3 separate regions of the Homo sapiens genome follow, and all the other regions are linked to region 3. The links are contacts of gene promoters, found by promoter capture Hi-C in blood cells and fetal thymus (Javierre and others, 2016). All regions are on one chromosome and are shown on one strand. The core of a region is centred on a gene start or on the middle of the fragment in contact, and the rest is flanking DNA. Distances in the headings are between cores, read along the strand shown.

Region 1 (3,665 bases), core at 697-3,196, 260 kb after region 3:
ACAGATATACTCTGTATATTCTCTCTGATCTATTATTGTAGACACTGCACATTCAAATTGACATTTAAGACCAAACGTCTCTTATGTTATCTTTAACATTACTTTGAATAATAATTACAATGATGTTTCTTCCTATGATTCCACATAACATTTAGAAGAATGTCAACTTTTTATAACTGAATGTATTTCTAGTGCTTTACTTATATTTGGCTTTTCGACTCTTACAAAACCATCAGTCTGCATTTATATAACTTTTATAAATAATATTATAATTTGGGTCAAGTTAAGATAATAAAACTTCCTTTCAGCGTTGAAAAAAAAAATCTTTCAAAATATGTTATCCTTTCTGCTTTAAGTCCTGGCTGTAAGGATTGAAAAATTAGAACCCTAAATATATTGAGTAAGTTTGACAAATATGTGGAAATTATCTTGCAGCTAATATTGCTGATCCTAAAACACCAATAAATGATGCTTTCTCAGTATTTCTCATATTGATTTCTGAGACTTATATTTTTGAAACCTTAATCTAGAGCTGTGGCAAGCCATGCAAATGGGAGCTTACTCTGGTATTGGTTTTCCTTCATCTTATTTGAAGCAGCAAGAGGTATATTCCTCAGCACTTAGAAAGTAGCTGTAGCAGCTGTGCGCTGTGGCTCACACCTGTAATCCCAGCACTTTGGGAGGCCGAGGTGGGCGGATCACCTGAGGTCAGGAGTTCGAGACCAGCCTGGCCAACATGGTGAAACCCGATCTCTACTAAAAATACAAAAATTAGCCAGGCTTGGTGGCACGCTGAGATCCTGCCACTGCACTCTAGCCTGGGCTACAGAGTGAGACTCCATCTCAAGAAAAAAAAGAAAAGAAAAGAAAGAAAGTAGCTACAGGCCAGGCACAGTGGCTCATGCCTGTAATCCCAACACTTGGGGAGGCCAAGGTGGGAGGATCACTTGAGCCCAGGAGTTCAAGACCAGCCTGGGCAACATGGTCGAACTCCATCTCTATAAAATACCAAAAAATTAGCTGGGCATGGTGGCACGTGCCTGTAGTCCCACCTATTTGGAAGGCTGAGGTGGGAGGATTGCTTGAGCCCAGGAGGTGGAGGTTGCATTGAGCTGAGATTGTACCACTGCACTACAGCCTGGATGACAGAGCAAGACCCTGTCTCAAAAAAAAAAAAAAAAAAAGTAGCTATAAAACAGTTCTTCCTTGATGACTGAGATTTTGAACCTAGGCTTTGAAGCATTTGAGCCACCAGTCTTTGTCCATCCAAACAAAACCTGATTGCCTTCAATTACCTAACCCACTCAAGTGGTGTCTTCTGTTGTTTGGGAAATAGTCTGCTGTCTTCTGTAGCATGGGAAATAGTTTCCAAGACTAGATTTATACACACATACATACACTTGCATATATATACACCCATAGCTGTAGGTAATGTATATTTAAGGGCTGTTATGTTTTTAGAAAATATATATCTATTGTATTTTAACTTTTTAGTCTCTAAGTGTTCTGTCATGTAGAGATGTCAGGTTGTGATTATCTCAGTAGGAAGCTTATAGACATTGGAATTGATCATAATTCATTTTTTGACGATAGTTTTACCTTTCTTAAGCTTTTCATTGAAATTTGCATTTCTTACCTGTTAACTGACTACCCAGTAGATCTCCATAAAAGTAGAAGAATCAACTGTATGGTCAACCTTTATGTTACTGTACTCATTGGTGTTATGCATAGTTTTATAATATTGTTTTTAATTTTTCTTCTTTAAATAGACTCTGGAACTTCTTTACAGAATTACTAATGCACAGAATATAACAGTTATTGTCCAGAAAATGCTTGAATATTTACATCAGAGCAAAGAAGAGTATGTCATCGTCAATTTGGTCGGCAAAATAGCAGAGCTGGCTGAGAAATATCCTTTTATTTCGACCATGAGTCTTAAAATAGTTAGTTATGCAGTGACTTTAAGATGATTGGTATAGATATGGTCACTTGCAAGTCGAGTTCAGAGACCTAGCAATACTTTTTATTCCTGATTTTCAAGCCTCTCTTGTCAGAAAAAGGGATTTGTGTAGACCTCTTAGGAGATGGCTTTTTTTTTTTTTTTTTTGCTGGTTTCTTTTATTCATGTAGTCCAGTATTTTGAGCAGGAAGATAGAGGAACCTTTATCCTCTTTTTCCTCTTTCAGTCCTGCCTCGTCTCTACTTCTATCTTGATTTCTTTTCTGAGTAAAAGTTCTTGCTTTTTGGGGAAAGTGGAGGGTGTGTGGGAGTGGTCAGGATGCTAAAGCTTATCCTTTATTGTTTTAAGCTGGAAATTGTCACAGTTAAGTAGTTGGGAACTCTATTAACATGTTACTCTTCTTCATGTTTGTTTCTTAAAAGTCAGAAGAACTTTACAGGTCATAAGCATATTCCATTCATTAAAAAATGTTACTGTTTAGGCCGGGCACAGTGGCTCATGCCTGTAATCCCAGCACTTTGGGAGGCTGAGGCGGGTGGATCACCTGAGGTCGGGAGTTTGAGACCAGCCTGACCAACATGGAGAAACCCTGTCTCTACTAAAAATACAAAATTAGCCGGGCATGGTGGCGCATGCCTGTAATCCCAGCTACTAGGGAGGCTGAGGCAGAGGAATCGCTTGAAACTGGGAGGCGGAGGTTGCAGTGAGCTGAGATTGCACCATTGCACTCCAGCCTGGGCAACAAGAGCGAAACTCCGTCTCAAAAAAAAAAAAAAAAGTTACTGTTTAATTATAAAAAAGAGTGAGTGAATGCTGTTAATGAAATTATATTGGAAATTGCTTAAGTGTAGTTTTGTCCTAGTCAGTGCTGTAGCTCTGGCCAGCAGAATGATAGAACTTTAGAACTGATGAGGAACAGATTAGAAAAGAGACTAAACACCTGTAATCACAGCACTTTGGGAGGCAGAGGTGGGAGGATTGCCTGAGCTCAGGAGTTCACGACCAGCCTGGGCAACACAGTGAAACCCTGTCTCTACTAAAACACAAAAAAATTTAGCCGGGCATGGTGGTGTGCACCTGTAGTCCCAGATACTCGGGAGGCTGAGGCAGGAGAATTGCTTGAACCCAGGAGGCGGAGGTCACAGTGAACCGAGATCGCACCACTGCCCTCCAGGCTTGGCGACAGAGCAAGATTCTGCCTCAAAAAAAAAAAAAAAAGGAAAAAAAGAAAAGATACTAAACAATTTGTTCAAGTAGACATACAACAATATTTAGCTTCTTTGAAGTGAATTCTTTGAAGAATATAATTTTCCATTATTTGCATCTAGTTAGCTGGTTTGTTTCTTTCAGTTATTTCACATTTATTTATTGGATGACTGTTTTGTGCAAGTATGGTGCCAAAGTGACATAAACTCAGTTTATTAAGTTTATTAAATAAGCTTCTACTGAGTACCTATTTTACATAAAACTGGGGTACAGAACAATTTATGGCAGAGGTTAAAGGTAAAACTGCCATACTAGGATGAATTGGGGTTATTTTTTAAAAGATTGCTACAGAAGGGTAATTTTAATAAGTAGCATTTGGAAGTGTACTTGTTCTTAACACTGTGGACACATATGCTCCTGATAATGCATGGTTTATTCAGACAATGAATGCTGTGTTTTCAGTAGGAGGAGATGTAATGCATCCTGATATTCCCAATAA
Region 2 (3,760 bases), core at 553-3,052, 290 kb after region 3:
TGTTGGCCAGGCTGGTCTCAAACTCCTGACTTCAAGTGATCCACCTGTCTTGGCTTCCCAAAGTGCTGGGATTACAGGTATGAGCCACTGTGCCCGGCCATTTTTTTTTTTTTTTTTTGAGACAGTGTCTCATTCTGTCACCTAGGCTGGAGTGCAGTAGAACGATCATAGTTCACTGTAGCCTTGAACTCCTGGGCTCAAGTGATCCTACTGCCTCAGCTTCCTGAGTATCTAGGATTCCAGGTGCATGCCATCATGCCTGGTTCATTTTTAATTTTTTGTAGAGACAGAGTCTCCCTAATGTTGCCCAGACTGGTCTCAAACTCTTGAGCTCAAGTGATCCTCCTACCTTGACGTTGCAAAGCACTGGGATTATAGGCATGAGCCACTGTGTACTGCCTGTATTTTTATTTTTTTGAGGAACCTCCATACTGCTTTCCACAGTGGTTGCACCATTTTGCATTCCCATCAACAATGGGTAAGGGTTCTGACTTCTTCACATCCTTCCTGACACGTTATGTTTTCTTTTCTTTGATAATCACCATCCTGACTGGTACAAGGTGATGCCTTATTATGGTTTCAGTTTGTATTTTCTTGCTAATAGTAACCTTGAGCATTTTTTCATATACCTGTTGGCCATGTGTATGTCTTCTTTAGAGAAATGTTTATTTAAGTTATTGGCCTATTTGTGATCAGGTTATTAGTTAAAAAAAAAAAACTATTGAGTCATAGGATTAACATATTTTGGAGGTTAACCCTTACCAGAAATGTGGTTTGCAAATATTTTCTCCTATTCCATAGGTTGCCTTTTCACTCTGTTGAGTGTTTTCTTTGCTATGCAGAAGCTTTTTAATTTGATGTATTGCCACTTGTTTATTTTTGTTATTATTACCTGTATTTTTGGTGTCATATCCATGAAATTATTGTAAAGACCAATGTCATAAAGCAGCTTTTACCAGCTGGGCGCGGTGGCTCACACCTGTAATCCCAGTACTTTAGGAGGCTGAGGTGGGTGGACCACCTGAGGTCGGGAGTTCGAGACCAGCCAGACCAACATGGAGATACCTCATCTCTACTGAAAATACAAAATTAGCCAGGCGTGGTGGTGCATGCTTGTAATGCCAGCTACTTGAGAGGCTGAGGCAGGAGAATCACTTGAACCCGGGAGGTGGAGGTTGCAGTGAGCTGAGATTGTACCATTGCACTCCAGCCTGAGCAACAAGAGCAAAACTTCATCTCTTTCTATGAGTTTTACAGTTTTGGGTCTTACAGTTAAGTCCTTAGTTCATTTTGAGTTGATTTTTATGTATGGTATAAGATAAAGCTTCCATTTTATTCTTTTGCATGTGAATATTTGGTTTTCCCAATGTTGTTTGTTGAGAAGACTGTCCTTTCTCTGTTGTGTATTCTTGGTGTCCTTGTTCAATATTAGTTGACTATACATGCTTGGATTTATTTCTGGGCTCTCTGTTCTGTCTCTATGTCTGTCTTTATGCCAGTACTATGCTGTTTTGATTATTGTAGATTTGTAATATATTTTGAAATCAGTAAGTGTGATGCCTTCAGCTTTGCTCTTTTTTCTCAAGATTAATTTGGGTATTCATGGTCTTTTGTGGTTCTTCATTGGTGAATTCTACCAAACACTTAATGAATTAATATTGGGGCTGGGCACAGTGGCTCATGCCTGTAGTCCTAGCAATTTGGGAGGCCATGGTGGGAGGATCACTTGAAGCCAGGAGTTTGATACCAGCCTAGACAATATAGCTTGACCCCATCTCTACAAAAGGGACAGAGAGAGAGAGAGAGAGAGAGAGAAAGAGAGAGAGAGTTCTTTTCAACCTCTTCCAAAAATTTAAAGAGGAGAGAACATTTCTAAACTTATTTTATGAGACCAGCCTTACCCTGATAGCAAAGCCAGACAGAGCCACCACAAAAAAAAGAAAACTACAGGCCAATATCCCTGATGAATATAGGCAAAATACTAGGAAACTGAACTCAATAAAAGGATCATACACCATGATCAAGTGGGATTTATCCTAGGGATCCAAGGATGGTTCAACATCTGAAAATAAATTAATGTGATATCATGTTAACAGAATAAAGGATAAAAACCACACAGTTCTCAATAAAAGCAGAAAAAGTGTTTGACAAAATTGAATACCCTTTCATGATTAAAAAGAAACTCAATAAAACTAAGAATAGAAGGCAATATCTCAATATAATAAAGACCATATATGATAAACCCAGAGCTAACATCATAGCATGGTATGATGAAAAACCAAAAGCTTTTCCTCTGAGATCAGGAGCAAAGCAAGGATGCCCACTTGTCTCTTTTGTAGTCAACACAGTACTGGAAGTATTAGCCAGAGCAGTTAAGAAAAAGAAGAGAGGTATTCAGATTGGAAAGGAAAATTGTTCCTCTTTGCAGATAATATGGTTTTATTTATAGAAAACCCTAAATTAGACTCCATTAAAAAACCGTTAGAAGTAATAAGCGAATTCTGGAAAGTTGTAGGATGCAAAGTCAACATGCAAAAATTATTTGCATTTTTGTACACTAACAACAAACCATGTGACAAGGTTATTAGGAAGACAGCCCAATTTATGATAGCACCAAAAGGAACAAAATACCTAATAATAAACTGAAGCAAGTGAGAAAGTTGTGTTTAATGAAAACCACTGAACGTTAATGAAAGAAATCAAACAAGGCACAAATAAATGGAAATACATCCTGTGTTCATGGATTGGAAAGTACATGTATTCTGTGCAATCCCTTTCTTTTAAGGCTTTTTATATGTTATTTAGCACAGTGATAACTAATGTACTATAAAATTTAAACTCTCTTTCAAAGTGTAATCAGTTTCCTCTCATTAACTTTTTATATATTAATAGAATATATTGGGGGAAAAAGTAAACTTTTGAATTATAATTGCCTAACCTGTGGTTATACTGCATATAAATGCCTTATGACATCCAGGGCCTAGAGTGAAAAGCTCCTGGGTTTCCACAGTGGGAGGTATGATTCCGTTGTCATACTTCCTTATTTTCAGGTATCTGGGGGCCACCAGTTGCCATTACTGAAGTCAAGGGTTGGATAGGGAAGGGGAGATATAATAGGGAGACTATTTCCTGGCACTGCCTATTTTGTTTCTTAAAATAAGCTAAATAGCTGACACAAATACAAGAGCCCTGGAATTCCCCAAGCTTATGCAGTCCTTTGCCAAGTACATTTTTTCCCATAGAACCACATTATAAATGGGATTAAACGCTCAAACTAGATTCTCCCTCTCTCCTCCCAAATCTGTGTGCTTCAAAAGTCCTTTAAAGCAAAACTGAAATTTCAGGAGACTGTTATAGAAAAGGAAATTGGTTATGAGACAAGATATAGCAAGTATTTAATAAATACTTGTGGAATAAATTATAAAATTATATATCTTAGAAATGGGGTTGGCTATAAGACAAAATAAAGAGTAGGGGGAAATAGGTATTTTATGCATAAAGAATTAATTCTTGAATCTTTTAATTATCAATCTGTTATGGTTTTTTTTTTTTTTTTTTTTAGACAGAGTCTCTCTCTGTTGTCCAGGCTGGAGTGCAGTGTTGCAATCTTTTGGCTCACTGCAACCTCCACTTCTCGGGTTCAAGCGATTCTTGTGCCTCAACTTCCTAAGTAGCTAGGACAACTGGTGCATGCCACCACATCCAGCTAATTTTTGTATTTTTAGTAGCGATGACGTTTCACCTGTTGCCCAGGCTGGTC
Region 3 (3,747 bases), core at 561-3,060:
GTCCTTGTCTTTTTAGACATAAACACAATAAAGTATCCATAAATGACATTTGTCTGGGATTTGCTTTAAAATTATCCCATTGAGGAATGATAGAAGAAATAAAATTCACATGGTTGAAGCTGTTGAAACTGGCCAATGGGTATATGGTAGTTCATTCTACAATGTATCTTTGCAAGTTTGAAATCTCCCATGTTGGCCTGGCGCGGTGGCTCACGCCTGTAATCCCAGGACTTTGGGGGGCTGAGGCGGGCGGATCACCTGAGGTCAGGAATTAAGAGACGAGCCTGCCAAACATGGTGAAACCCCGTCTCTACTAAAAATGCAAAAATTAGCCGGGCATGGTGGCTACAGTCCCAGCTACTCGGGAGCCTGAGGCAGGAGAATCGCCTGAATCCCGGAGGCGGATGTTGCAGTGAGCGGAGATCGCGCCACTTCACTCCAGCCTGGGCGACAGAGTGAGACCCTGTCTCAAAACAAACAAACAAAAAAGAATAAGGTGGAAAATAGTGAAAGACACATTATTTATTCAAAGTATTACTACATTTGTGTTATAAGTAAAACTCTTATTTTAGTTTTGTATGGCACTTGAATTAGCGTCCAGTGAAAAGCAAACTTGCCAGACTCCAGCAGAGGGAGAGTTGTTTGCATAAAGCCTATCAAATTCAAGTACTGACCAAAAATACCTACTTTGCTCTTCATGTCCCTGATGTAAATGACTTTCTTAAGAAATCTTCAAAATTGGTTCCTGATATCCAAAAATAAAAAGCTCTATCGGAAGCTGCAATGCACCGCCTCCCTCTCTCCATTCCGCACCTTTCGGTTTAAAACACGATCAACTGTTCTCTGGGGCAAGGGATGCGGTAGTTCGACTTAAATCCTGACTGACAGTACATTGTCTTGGTCCCCACAGAAGCCTCCCCCCACCCACCAAAATCCTTAATTCTTGCTAAAGAAAAAAGATCTACCATCAATATTGTCAAATCCCTCCCTTTTGGTTCCAAAAAGGAAATGTACCTGTAGAGTATCCGCTGCACAGCAAACAAGGCACTGCTCCAAACCCGTGTCCTCTACCCCCTTTTTGCACCCTTCTAGCCCTCCCTCCCTTTTTTCCATGTAAAACTTGAGCAGAGCATTTGGTTCCCTTATCTGCCAGCAACTGGCGCCAGGAGGACCGTGCTCCCAGGAGATGCGGAGCTTGTAGGCTGAGCCCTGCGTCGGGCGCGCTGAGGCCGCTCAGCTGAGCCCAGCCAGGTAGTCCCGGGCTCGCGCCTCTGCCGCCTGGAGAGGCCCTCGCTGGGAGCCGAGTCTCGGCTCAGGGGATTCCCGCGAAGAGGTGTCGCCTCTAACTTGCTACCTGCTCCCGCCCCTCACCCCAGAACGAACTGCACACCCGTCCCGAGAGGACAAATCCGGAAGCCTCAAGGCAATTCGAGGGTCCTTCGCCGCATGGAACGCGGCTCCCCACACACTTGCCTGCCAAGTCTCTCCTTTACCGCCCGCAACCCCAGAACCATTCCCCGCCCGGGCCTGCGTGGGTCCAGTACCATTCTCCTCACGGGGCGGACTCCGGAAGGGCAGCAACTCCACCTCCTCCTCCTCCGCGGCCTGTAGCCATCTATCGGGAAGCGTCTCCGGAGGCGGCAGCAGAGGCCGCCGGACAAGGAACGCCCAGGGAAACCTTCTCAGAACTAACTCAGCTCCGGCGCTAGCAGCAGAAGCCGAGTCTTTCATAATTGTGCGACCAACTCCTCCGGGTGACTGGCCACAGGGACGCGCCCGCGCCCGCCTCCGCCGGCGACGGGGCTGGGGACGGACCACGTGAGCGGCGCGGCGCGGCGCGTGCGTCGCCGCCCGCGGGTCGGGTCACGTGAAGGGCGCGCGCTCCCTCGATTCCAGGCCGCCTCCCTGCGCGCCGCGCGCACGCGCTGGGCAGGTTCGCGCCGCCACGCCGACCGCCTCTGGGTTCCCAGAAAGTGGTGGGGTGTTCACGCCGTATCTCCGTTGGGTACCTAGGCGGGACTTAGACAAACTTCAGCCTCAGCTACGAGAGTGGAACTTGGGGAATCGGAGGTTGAGGGTTAAGGTTCAAGGCTTGCGGATCCAGTCTGGAGTTGCTGTGTGGGCTCATTCCGCTAACTAGGCCTGGCCTGTGCCGACTCGCTCCAGCAAACTCGAGTGTCGCAACACACTCTGTGTGCTTCAGAGCGAGTAGAGGCTTTAAATGTTACTCTCTCCTCGTCCAAAATGCAGAATCATCTTTTTACCCCAATCATGTTCTTTCTCTAGCCTCTCCTGTTGCTGCCGGTAAATATTCTTCTTTGTTTAACTATGGGACTGTCTTTTTCCCTCCAGAGATACTCACCCACATACACGCATACACCACACCTTCTGCACCAAAAACTGGGTTGTTCCCTTGATGTAATATGTACCTATCCACCTTTCCATTTATTTTGCTGTCACACATGCCAAGGTTTGGCTATTAGCAATGGTTTACTAAATGTTATTCCTTATCTACTGGGAAGACCACAATCAGTTTAATTTTCTTAAAACTGCTTTAACATCTTTCTGCTCCTGAAGTCTTCGAGAGTTCCTCAATCTGACCCTCAGGGATCTGACTGTCTTATCTCTTTTTTAAAAACGACTTTATTTTAAAATAATTGACATGACAAACTGCACGTATTTAAATGTCCAATTTGATAAGTTTTGACATACCTGTGCACCCATGAAATCACCATAATCAAATGAACGTATTCACCTCTAAGTTTCCTCCCCCCCCTTCATAATCCCTTCATCTCGTCCCTCTCCATCACGTCCCTTATCAACTACAGATCTACTTTCAGTACAGATAAGTTTGCACATGCTAAAGTTTTATATACGGGAATCATACAGCACGCACCTTTTTTTTCCGTCTAACTTCTTTCATTCAGCATAATTATTGCCTCTCAAACATTATGACCCACAATTCACTGAAGTAGGATCTTCTCTCAGAAAAAAAACTAATCCACCCACTGGTTCCCCCAGCTTGTGAACAATCTTCAGGTATTGTGTATTTCTTCCCCATCTGGCAGGTCCAGCAGAACCAAGACTTAAAAATGTTTTAATATATGTGTCACACTAAATTGTCAGCCTTGGGGAAGGCATCTTGACTAATTTATGCATGCAGTCAATAAATGTTTATCTTCTGGATTTCAGTTGGGCCTACACATTTCCTGCCTGTAGGGAGTTTATAATCTAGAAGGTAGAGGCAGACAAACTGGAAAATCAAAATAAAATGAGATTAGAGTGCTTTGTTTCGTTAGAACTTTGTAACTCTGGTCTTTTTGTACTCACGAATGCTTCGCTCCTTAGTTGGATGGTGTAGAAATGAAACAAGATGAGCTCCTTGGCACTTGCCAGAACTCTTTGGTAAATTGGAAAATTTAGAGTTAGAAATGGGGAACAGGATTGGGTGGGCGCGGTGGCTCATGCTTGTAATCCCAGCACTTTGGGAGGCCGAGGCGGGTGGATCACCTGAGGTCAGGAGTTCTAGACCAGCCTGGCCAACACGGTGAAACCCCGTCTCTACTAAAAATACAAAAATTAGCTGGGCATGGTGGCAGGCGCCTGTAATCACAGCTACTCGGGGGGCCGAGGCAGAAGAATCGCTTGAACCCAGGAGGCAGAGGTTGCAGTGAGCCGAGATCGCGCCATCTCACTCCAGCCTGGGGGACAAGAGCAGGACTTCGTCTCAAAAAAAAAAAAAAAAAA

The links. Contacts are between HindIII fragments. The CHiCAGO score rates a contact against its expected background, and 5 or more counts as called.
Region 1: a fragment that was not itself captured here is called in contact with the fragment with the promoter of TRPM7 in region 3 in 1 of 17 cell types (M1 macrophages); the score reaches 7.2 in M1 macrophages.
Region 2: a fragment that was not itself captured here is called in contact with the fragment with the promoter of TRPM7 in region 3 in 1 of 17 cell types (M1 macrophages); the score reaches 5.5 in M1 macrophages.

The regions. Positions count from the first base shown.
Region 1 is chr15:50,946,251-50,949,915 of GRCh38, forward strand. It overlaps AP4E1 (adaptor related protein complex 4 subunit epsilon 1), which reads left to right. Exons shown (of 21, transcript NM_007347.5): 11 at 1,770-1,909; 12 at 3,576-3,665. It also overlaps the pseudogene DCAF13P3. Among named protein-coding and RNA genes, the nearest start is that of AP4E1, 39 kb to the left of the region's middle. The HindIII fragment of the contact is 678 bases long and covers 1,608-2,285 here.
Region 2 is chr15:50,974,167-50,977,926 of GRCh38, forward strand. All of the region lies in intron 15 of AP4E1 (adaptor related protein complex 4 subunit epsilon 1), which reads left to right. Among named protein-coding and RNA genes, the nearest start is that of MIR4713HG, 61 kb to the right of the region's middle. The HindIII fragment of the contact is 961 bases long and covers 1,323-2,283 here.
Region 3 is chr15:50,684,987-50,688,733 of GRCh38, forward strand. TRPM7 (transient receptor potential cation channel subfamily M member 7) reads right to left here and starts at 1,811. Exons shown (of 39, transcript NM_017672.6): 1 at 1,545-1,811. The coding sequence starts at 1,547. It overlaps LOC128092252, which reads right to left and starts at 1,731. Exons shown (of 4, transcript NM_001414947.1): 1 at 1,545-1,731. The coding sequence starts at 1,731. RefSeq lists enhancers at 899-1,763, 1,293-1,712, 2,023-2,202 and a silencer at 1,763-1,932. The HindIII fragment of the contact is 16,005 bases long and covers 1-3,747 here.